Linked DNA regions of Homo sapiens: regions 2 and 3 are each linked to region 1. Evidence: promoter capture Hi-C in human tissues and cell types (Jung and others, 2019). All regions are on one chromosome and are shown on one strand. The core of a region is centred on a gene start or on the middle of the fragment in contact, and the rest is flanking DNA. Distances in the headings are between cores, read along the strand shown.

Region 1 (2,932 bases), core at 232-2,731:
GCAGAAGGCAGAGCGGCAAAGGGCCTCGCCTTTTCTTCCCCGAGCACAGCCGGGATAACCGGATGGTAGGACAAGTCTGGGGTGGGCTGGGGCATGCGTCCCCGGCCTGGCCTGAGTTGGAAGATCGTAGGGAAGGGGATGAGAGTGTGCACTTCCGGGCCCATCTTCCAGCCACCACGTTCCCACCAAAAAAAACTACAGTGGGGGAGACATGGGCTAGGGGCTGGGAAGAGATGCGCCAAGGCGGGGTGGAAGACAGAGAGGGGAGACAGGGAGAGAGGAAGGAGAGAGAGAGACAGAGAAAGAAAGAAGGTCCCTTCTGCGGTCCTAAGAAGTCTGTACCCCCTAGCGAATCAGTCCTGCCGCTGGACTCCTGGCCGCTGCCCGGGCCGGCGTCAGCTTCACACAATGTCGCGTGAGTCTTTGTGCGTGTGCGCGGGGGAGGTTCGAGATGTTTTCCTCCCGGTAAGTTCCCGCGCCAGCACCGCCCCCCAGCTCCGCGGGCCTCCCCGCGGCGAGCCGGGACGCGTGGTCCCCGCGGGCTCACCTGAAGAAGGCCGGTCCGAGTAGCGCGTACAGTAGACCCACGCCGGCCAGAGCATGGGCTGCGCGCCCAGGTTGGCGCCGGCTTGCGAGCTGTCCGAGTCCGAGCTCACCGACAGGTCGCCGCCGCCCAAGCCGCGGGCCTTGAGCGACCCGTCCAGGGGGCCGCCGGGGTCGCCGCCTTTCTTGGCGCCACCGTGCAGCGAGAGCGTCTTGGAGCCGCCTTCCCCGTCACCCGGAGAGTCGCTGCCGGCGGCTGGGAGCGGCCCGCCCGCGCCGGGCGCACATGGCGGGTTCTGCCGGGGCTCTCGGGAGCCCGAGCCCAAGAGCTGCTCCGAGCCGCCCGCGCCGCCGCCTCCCTCCGCACCGCTCGCGCCGCCTTCGCCGCCGGCTCCGCCGCCCCTTCCTCCTCCCGCGCCCGCACAGCAGGTCCCCGCGTCCTTTCGCCGGCCGAACTCGGGCCGCAGGATGTTGTCGATGAAGAAGTTGGTGATGCGGTGCGGGTGCTGGTGGTTGCCGGGCGCCTGCAGGACCGCGGGCAGCATCAGAGCCCGCCGGCGCCCGGTGTCCGCTTCGCCCGGGCTGCTACCGCCGCCGCCGCCCGAGCCGCCGCCGGGGCTGGATTCCGGCTGCCGCTGTCCCTCCACCGCCGCCGCTGCTTCGCCAGGCTTGGGGTCATTCTCCTCCATGCTGTTCACAGTAAATCCCACACTGGTTCTCCGGGGACGCCCTTCCAAATCAGCCTTCGGCCCTCCCGCGGCGCACACGGAGACCCCCGCGCCCCCACCCCGCCGAGTCTTCCGAGGGCGTGCGCGGCGGCCGCGGCCAGGGCTGAGGTCCTACAAGTCGCCGGCCGCGCTCGGCGCGGAGCCACCTTTGAATCCACGAACTGGGTTAGAAACACCACGAGCCGCCCCGCTCGCCCAGACGATGAGAGATTCAACAGAGCCAAGTCCTCGACTTCGCCGCGCAGCCGGGGTCTAGACAGTCGCAGTGGTCCGGCGGGGACGCGGGCCGCCTCCCGGGCTCCCCGCTCCTCTCCGCGTCCGGCCGCCTCGGGCTCCGGCGCCGCCGCCTGGGCCGCCCGGGGCGAGAGCTGCGCGCATGCAGGCAGCGCGTTCCCCGGCGCTCACGCCCGCCCGGGCCGGCTCCGGCCGCCGCCGCCGCCCGGCCGTCCCCGCCCGCACGCCCTAGCCGGCCCTCGAGGGTGCCGGGCGCCCGCGGTCAGCGCGCCCGCCACCGCCCGCACGCACATGGAGGCCCCCTCCTCGCGGCCGCCGCCCCGCTGCGGGCCGGGGCGCCCCACCGGCGTGCGGCCGCGCCCCCGCCGAGCCCCGCAGAGCTCCGCGGCCCGAGTCGCATGGGTGAGAGACGCGAGGCCAGGGCCCGGCCGGGCCGGGCTGGGCCGCCCGCGCTCCCCGGCCGTCCGCCGCCCTCGCCGCCTCGGCCTCCGCGCGGGCTCGGAAATTTCCAGGCCACTCGGCGCAACCTGAGACACTTTCACTCTGGATTTTTGTTCTTATTTTTAACAGAGCCCCCTCGAGTGACGTCGCAGGCCGGTCTCCTGGACACGTGCCTCGGGCCAATGGCCGCGGCGCCGCGCGCCCACGTGACGCTCCGGCCGCCGCTGGGTGACAGGAGCAGCCCGCCGCCCCTCCTCCCCTTAAAGCGGCCGCGTCCCCCGCTCCGGGTGCGGGAGCCCAGGAACCCGGAGAGACCCCCGACCGCGTCTCCTGCGCTCGCCCGCGCTTTCCCTGTCGCTTCGCGGTTCAGGGGTGTGAGTCACCCGGCGACAGCCCCGCCAGGTCACCCCGGGGCGCGTAGGTGGACACGCACAGGAAGATCGCTATTTTTAAGATTTCCATATTGTTTACCGTGGGGCGAAATCCCACAATTCCTTGCACAAAATGCATAAATAATATTAAATGAGCTGCCGAGATACAAAGGGACTTTTGTGGTCCGCTTTCCTTGCTGATGGAGAGGAATAGTGTCACTCCCATTTGACTCGGTAACCCGGCAGCTTCCTGTCTTAAACGCAGAGCTGGCGCGCAGGACACTCCTCCTGCAGACACTTATTGTAAGTGTGCGTGTGTGTGCGTGTGCAGGGAGGCGCGTGCATACGGCCGCATTCCACCCGGGGACAGCGACCCTCATGAAACATGCTTAGCGATCCGAAAGAGCGGGGGAATGCAGTATGCGGCTCCATTTGCGAAGGGAGAAATCCAGGAGCCTCGGAGGTTCTAAAGGAATCCTTTTTGCCAAGGAGAGGAGGGGTGACTGTTCAGCTAAGACTTCAAAACCAAGTCGCCCGCCCCCCTCTAACTTCTCTACTCTGATTGAGGAGCTCCCAGACCGGTCATCTCGTTTTCTTTGTTTTAAAATCCTTTAA
Region 2 (3,284 bases), core at 718-3,217, 270 kb after region 1:
AATCTATCTTTGTCTCCTGGTGGCTGCTGAGATTCCTTGGTTTGTGGCTGCATCCCCCAGTCTCTGCCTCTGTCTTCAAGACCCTTGTCTGTCCTCTGTGGTGCTTCTGATTTCCCTCTGCCCATCTTATGGGGACACATGTGACTGTACCTAGGACTCCATTGGATAGCCCAGGATCAGCAACTCCTCTCGAGGTCCTTAACTTCATTGCGTTTTGCTGTACAACATAACAGACCCCAGTCCCACTGGCACCTCCTCCTCTGATTTCTGAGCTCCCACTGTCTGCACCAGTGGCTTGAAATGTTCTACGTATTTCCTGAAATGTATTTTGTATTATTTAATCTTCAGGTGTTGCTTTTGTGGACACCGCTAGATTGCTTGCTCCCTGAGGTCAGGGGCTGTGTCTCACGGGGCTAGTTCCTCAAAGACACGGGACACAGACTGACTCCAGCATCTGTCAAAGATTCCTCCACTTCTGACACCATTGAAGCAGAGACTCCCTTCCTTTCTCCTCTCACACAGCCTCTTTTCACCTGAAAGAGGTTTCTACTTCTCAGGTTTGGCAACAAGCTTAGGTTCCTCTCTTTGACGCTGTCTATGGAATCACAAATGCCACCTGCCTCCCCTCTCAGCCTTCATCTTTCTGGATGAAAGAGTCTTTCCAGTTTTCCTCCCTCCCCACGTGCATGCCCCGGCTTAGGGTAACCATTCCCTGTGATGCTGTGGACATCATTTCCCCAGGGGTTAACCTCAACCTCATCTCAAATTTCTCTCCTGATTCAGTTAACTACTTGAGTAAACCTTATAAACTTAACAGTTAAATATAAGACTCTCATACAAATCTGGAATGAACACATCAGAGATTTGCTTAGCCCAGACTGGGAAAGGGCAAAATTGTACAACTGGTTCAAAGAGTGGCTGACAGAGTTTTGTTTCATCAGCCAACACAGCCCCTGTAAAGGAAGTCTGCTAAGTTAGAGGCCAAAGTGATCAATATCCTACCGCAAACTAAAACCACGGCCTTGGGGGCCAGTAGTTTCAGTGATTTCATTCTCCACCAGACTGAAATCATTTGCATCTCTACTGACAAAATATCTACAAATTAACATGTAACTTCACAAAGTCTAGGCCCTAATCAATGGTAAATAGCAAGTCAAATGAAGGTCCAGTCCTCCCCAAAAATAATGAAGCCAGCCTGGGGTGGACTTGAATGATGGGTGGGTCTTGGCTGTATGGTGACTGCCAAGCACTGGGTGATTTTCTTTTTTTTCTTTTTCACTTTTTTTTTTTTCTGAGATGGAGTCTCGCTCTGTCACCCAGGCTGGAGTGCGGTGGCGTGATCTCTGCTCACTGCAACCTCTGTCTCCTGGGTTCAAGTGATTTTCCTGCCTCAGCCTCCTGAATAGCTGGGATTACAGGCATGCACCATCACGCAGGGCTAAGTTTGGTGTTTTTAGTACAGACGGGGTATCACCATGTTGTCCAGGCTGGTCTGGAACTTCAGACCTCAGGTGATCCACCTGCCTTAGCCTCCCAAAGTGCTGGGATTACAGACATGAGCCCCCGTGATCGGTCCGCGATTTTCTTATACATAGGATAGATGGGGTGAACTCAGTGGGTGCTGGATGGATTGACGGAGGACCCACCCTATGTATAGACGGCCGGGATGGATCCTCTGTGAAATGTAGTTTTAAAGACTGGCAGGTTTCCGACCCCTGACCCTGTGCCCTGGGCCTGGGCACCCACCCGTCCTCTGCACCTGCGCCTCTCAGCAGCCCTAACTGCAGAGCTCTGCTCCCGGACCCGGCCCCCGTGGCAAGTGGGAGGAAGGGAAGGCCCAGGGCCAGAAGCCGAGGCCACAGGTCAGCCCCCACCCCCACACACCTGTAATGTAAAATGCCCATTTAGCCAAATTTAAAAAGTAACCAGAAACAGGTGGAATGCATGTTAATAATGTCCTGTTTAATCCAGTCCCGCTGGAACATTAGCATTTCCACATGTAATCAATTTAAAAAGTCTCAATGACTGGCTCGCTTTTTTTTTTTTCCTACGGTCTTCAAAATCTGGCGTGCGTTTCAGTCGCCGCACGTCTCCTTCGGAGGCTGAATGATTAGCCATTGCAGCAACATGTCGCCCTAGTGGAACCATGAAGGTCCATTTAAAGGAAAAATAACGTACATAGCTTCCATCTTTCAATCTAAATTCATCAGAATAAAACGTTAGGGGTTCAGCCTCTCTGGCCGCGTCCCAGGTGCGCACCAGTCCCGCGGCCGGAGCGGGAGAACCAGCGCGCGCCGCCGGGTGTGAGTGCCGCTCAGTGGCCGCGCTTGGTAGTGCAGGGTCCCGCCCCGGGGTTTGAGATTTGAGCACATTCTCCAGATGTTTCTATGAAGATTTGGGGGTGGGAGTCGGGTGGGAGTGAAAGAATGCACAGAGAAGGAGAGTTGGAAGAAGAAGGGGTGTTGTGTATGTTCAGTTCCAGTTCACCAAATCGCTGCGGGGGGGGGGGGGGGTGATTGTCACAGACGAGGTGGCTTTAACAATCATTTATTTCTTCACAGTTCTGGACCCTGGAAGTCTGAGATCAAGTCCAAGTCCAAATCCAAGATCAACAGGGTTAGTTTCTCCTGAGGCCTCTCTTCCTGGTTTTCCAATGGCCACCTTTATATCACAGAGAGAGAAAGAGAGACAGAGAGAGAAACAGAGAGACAGACAGAGAGAGCTTCTCATCTTCTTCTAGGGCCACAGTCTTATTGGGTTAGGGTCCCACCCTTCTGACCTCATTTAACCTTAATCACCTCCTTAGAGTCCCCATCTCCAGGTATAGTGACACTGGGGGGTTAGAGCTTCAACTATAAATTTGGGGGGACATAACCCTGCCCATAACAGCAGTAGTTACCGCATTCTACAGTAAGCAACTGAGGCACAGAAAGGCTAAGACTTGCCCAAGATCACACAGAGCCAGGGCCTGTCCCACGGGGGCTGGCTCTAGAGCCCGGGTTTCTCCCTTGAGTGTCCTCAGCCTCTTCTTGATCTTCAGTACCCCCACGCCCCTACCCCTACCCCAAACCCACGTGCTCAGAAGCCTCAGCCTCATATCTCTGTTCACCAAATCAGACCCCTCCTTTCCCTTCAAGCTTGGATTTCTACTCCCTTAGGCCAGGGAGCAAAGTGTAAAACTTAATAATGGGCTTTGACTAGTCCTGGTTTTTACAAACCCGGTTCACTCTCACAGGCTTGAGTGTGTCATAGCCAGGTGACTGGAAGTTAGCTGGCAGTGTCTA
Region 3 (2,929 bases), core at 227-2,726, 440 kb after region 1:
CTCTGAAAGGCAGGCTAAGGTGACTGAACTTCAGTCTACAAGTGGTGGGAAACTATGGGACATTTTGGAACCAGAGCATTGAGTCAGCATTGTCTAGCTAGTACTTTTTTGGATATTGTGGAACTAGCAGCACTATTTTGCCTGCTATTATACACTGAATAGGGGCAGGCCAGGCACGGTGGCTCACGCCTGTAATCCCAGCACTTTGGGAGGCCGAGGCCGGCAGATCGCTTGAGGTCAGGAGTTTGAGACCAGCCTGGCCAACATGATGAGACCCCGTCTCTACTAAAAATACAAAAATTAGCCAGGCGTGGTGGCACGTGTCTGTACTCTCAGCTACGTGGGAGACTGAGGCAGGAGAATTGCTTGAACCCGGGAGGCGGAGGTTGCAGTGAGCCAAGATTGCAGCACTGCACTCCACCCTGAGTGACAGGGTGAGACCTTGTCTCAATAAAACAAAAAATAAAATAAAAATAAAATAAAATAAACAGAATAAGGGCAGATATTTTCCAAATGGAATCAAATGGAATACCAGTTTTTACTGTCTCAACTTCAGCCTGTAAATTTTTTTGATAGGAATTGAAAATAGTAGGATTCTAATTTATGAGAAATATGGACAGTCATTTCTTCATATAAAGCTTTTCCCCGAAGGTCTCCAATCTGCTTCTTTGTACATGTCTCCCGCGCTCCATCCCGCAACATCTTCCTCCAGGCAGGAGCTGACTGCTAGTCCTGCCAGCCCACCATGCTCATTCCCAAGCCCAGGCCTCTGCTCAGGCTTCTCTTCCACAGGGAACAGGCATCCTTCTCTTCCTGTTGATCTTCGAAGGTCTCTCAAGACCCCTCCTCTAAGACAACCTCCCAAAACATCCCTGTCTCCGTCGCATCTCACACTTTGTATTCCATTACTCTATGCAACTCACGTTGGCATTTGATATGCTGCTTACAGGCTGGAACTCAGTCACTCCATGGACGGGCCTTGACTGCAACACAAAGCCTATATGCAATGCACCTACGTGCTCAGTACAGGTTTGTTCAACTACAGTGGATTTCCTATCATCAGACCACTTCACTGGACTACATGCGTTGGGCTTGTGTTTTAAACCATACCAGTACCCAAGCTTTACTCACATAACCTCTTGATGGATCAGGGTCTCTCCCAGGTAGTGGTGCTGTGGATAAGGAGCAATGCAGAGACAGGGAGAAATGGGCAACAGTGTCCTCTCTCTGTCCGTGTCTGCCTGCAGAGTTCTGGCTGCTCAAATCTCCGTGCAGAGGCCCTTCTAAAGTGGGAAGAGAAGGCAAATTCAGCCATTTTGTAGATGCAGCCTCATTTTTGCTCTCGGAAAACACATCACTACATGAAAACATAGTTATCCACAAATTGTTTGTATTTATAAACATGAAATAACATGGCTTATTGATTTCCTCAAGCCATATAGCTGCTAGGCTTATCAATCTGTTATTTCTTCCCAAAATGTCATCCATTTAGTCCACCGGCAAGTCTGAGGAAAAACTAAATATTTTATTATGCCATTTATACCAGATGATAGTTTCAGAAGCTCTCCTTTTCATTATAATTATTTAGTATTATTTGATGCATCATGATTATTTTATTGTCTATAACTGAGATCATGTGACAGGGCTATTTCTTATAGAAGTCTATGTTCTAGGATGTATTTTATCCTTAAACAAAGGACATATCCATTGAGTTCAAATTGGACAGAAATTATGGAGTCTCAACTCAAGTTTTTACATGCATCATGGTTCAAAACAAGTAAGAAATACCTTTGCAAGTATCTGATATCTCACCTAAAATTCCCCTTAATCTGTCTTATTCCTGCCACTGATCATAAAACAATAAGTGTAAGACTTGGCAATATCCCCTCTTGTCATAAGCTTTCCAATTATTGAAAATTAAGTAACTCCCCATAGATGAGAAATCATTAAATATATAGTAAATAATGAGGTTAATTAATTTAACCCCTTCTAATTAGGAAACTAATTAAATCAGAAAATTAAAACTGACGCGAGACATTAAACATAAAATTGTCTCTTCCACTTCAACCACTTCCAAAAGAGAAATATGTATTAGCTACAAAAAATATAAATCTGTATACTCTTTTCAACCAAAATAAAGTTAGATTTTTCCGTAGTATAAATATTACTTTTAGAGAGTTTTCCTCTTTTCTATTTCTATTGTATATGAAATTAAAACTCTTTCCTTTCAATGTTTTTAAAGAATGAATTAGAATAAGTCTAAAAAGGAGAGCGTAACCCAGACTCTGCCAGTAACTGTGACAATGAGAAACTCACTTGAATTCCTTGGGCCTCACCTTTCTCAACCTTAGTGTAGTCTCTGAAAGAAGTGAGATTGACTCCCGTCATCTTGGAGACGGACACAGTGTTAAACAGGAGCAACAGACGAGGCAGTTAGAGTTAGAGAAGCTGTTAAAATCTTTTCAGGGTGTTATGATACAGAACTAGATCTTGGCTTGGGATCTTCATTAATTAGCTGGTGAAATGTCTGAGATAAATTAAAGAGATTTTGCAAACAAGCCCAATTCTCTCTTCAACCCCAAACTGTCATGCCTGTCAACATTATTTTTGGATATAAATTCCTAACCTCTGGGAAATGTCTCAGAACAACAACCAAATAAAGAAAAAGGTTGGGTTGCTTGGTGCCATTAAAAATAATTTTTCTTTTCTTTCTTTCTTTTTTTTTCTTATTAAGACAGAGTCACTCTGTTGCCTAGGCTAGAAGTGCAGTAGTATGCTCTCGGTTCACTGCAACCTCCACCTCTTGGGTTTAAGTGATTATCGTGCCTCAGCCTCCCAAGTAGCTGGGATTACAGGCACTCACCACCACAACTGGCTAATTTTTGTATTTTTAGTAGAGACAGGTTTTCACCACGTTGGCCAGGCTGGT

What was found. The method cuts DNA at HindIII sites, captures the fragments that hold promoters and counts their contacts. A contact is called where the count stands out against the background at its distance.
Region 2: a fragment that was not itself captured here is called in contact with the fragment with the promoter of EN2 in region 1 in 1 of the 25 tissues and cell types used here (thymus).
Region 3: a contact is called between a fragment that was not itself captured here and the fragment with the promoter of EN2 in region 1, in 1 of the 25 tissues and cell types used here (spleen).

The regions. Positions count from the first base shown.
Region 1 is chr7:155,456,678-155,459,609 of GRCh38, reverse strand. EN2 (engrailed homeobox 2) reads right to left here and starts at 1,481. Exons shown (of 2, transcript NM_001427.4): 1 at 548-1,481. The coding sequence starts at 1,232. EN2-DT (EN2 divergent transcript) reads left to right here and starts at 2,492. Exons shown (of 3, transcript NR_186580.1): 1 at 2,492-2,620. RefSeq lists an enhancer at 1,828-2,819. The HindIII fragment of the contact is 19,554 bases long and covers 1-2,932 here.
Region 2 is chr7:155,189,804-155,193,087 of GRCh38, reverse strand. No RefSeq gene overlaps it. Among named protein-coding and RNA genes, the nearest start is that of INSIG1, 110 kb to the left of the region's middle. The HindIII fragment of the contact is 6,182 bases long and covers 1-3,284 here.
Region 3 is chr7:155,013,442-155,016,370 of GRCh38, reverse strand. No RefSeq gene overlaps it. Among named protein-coding and RNA genes, the nearest start is that of PAXIP1-DT, 11 kb to the right of the region's middle. The HindIII fragment of the contact is 4,543 bases long and covers 1-2,929 here.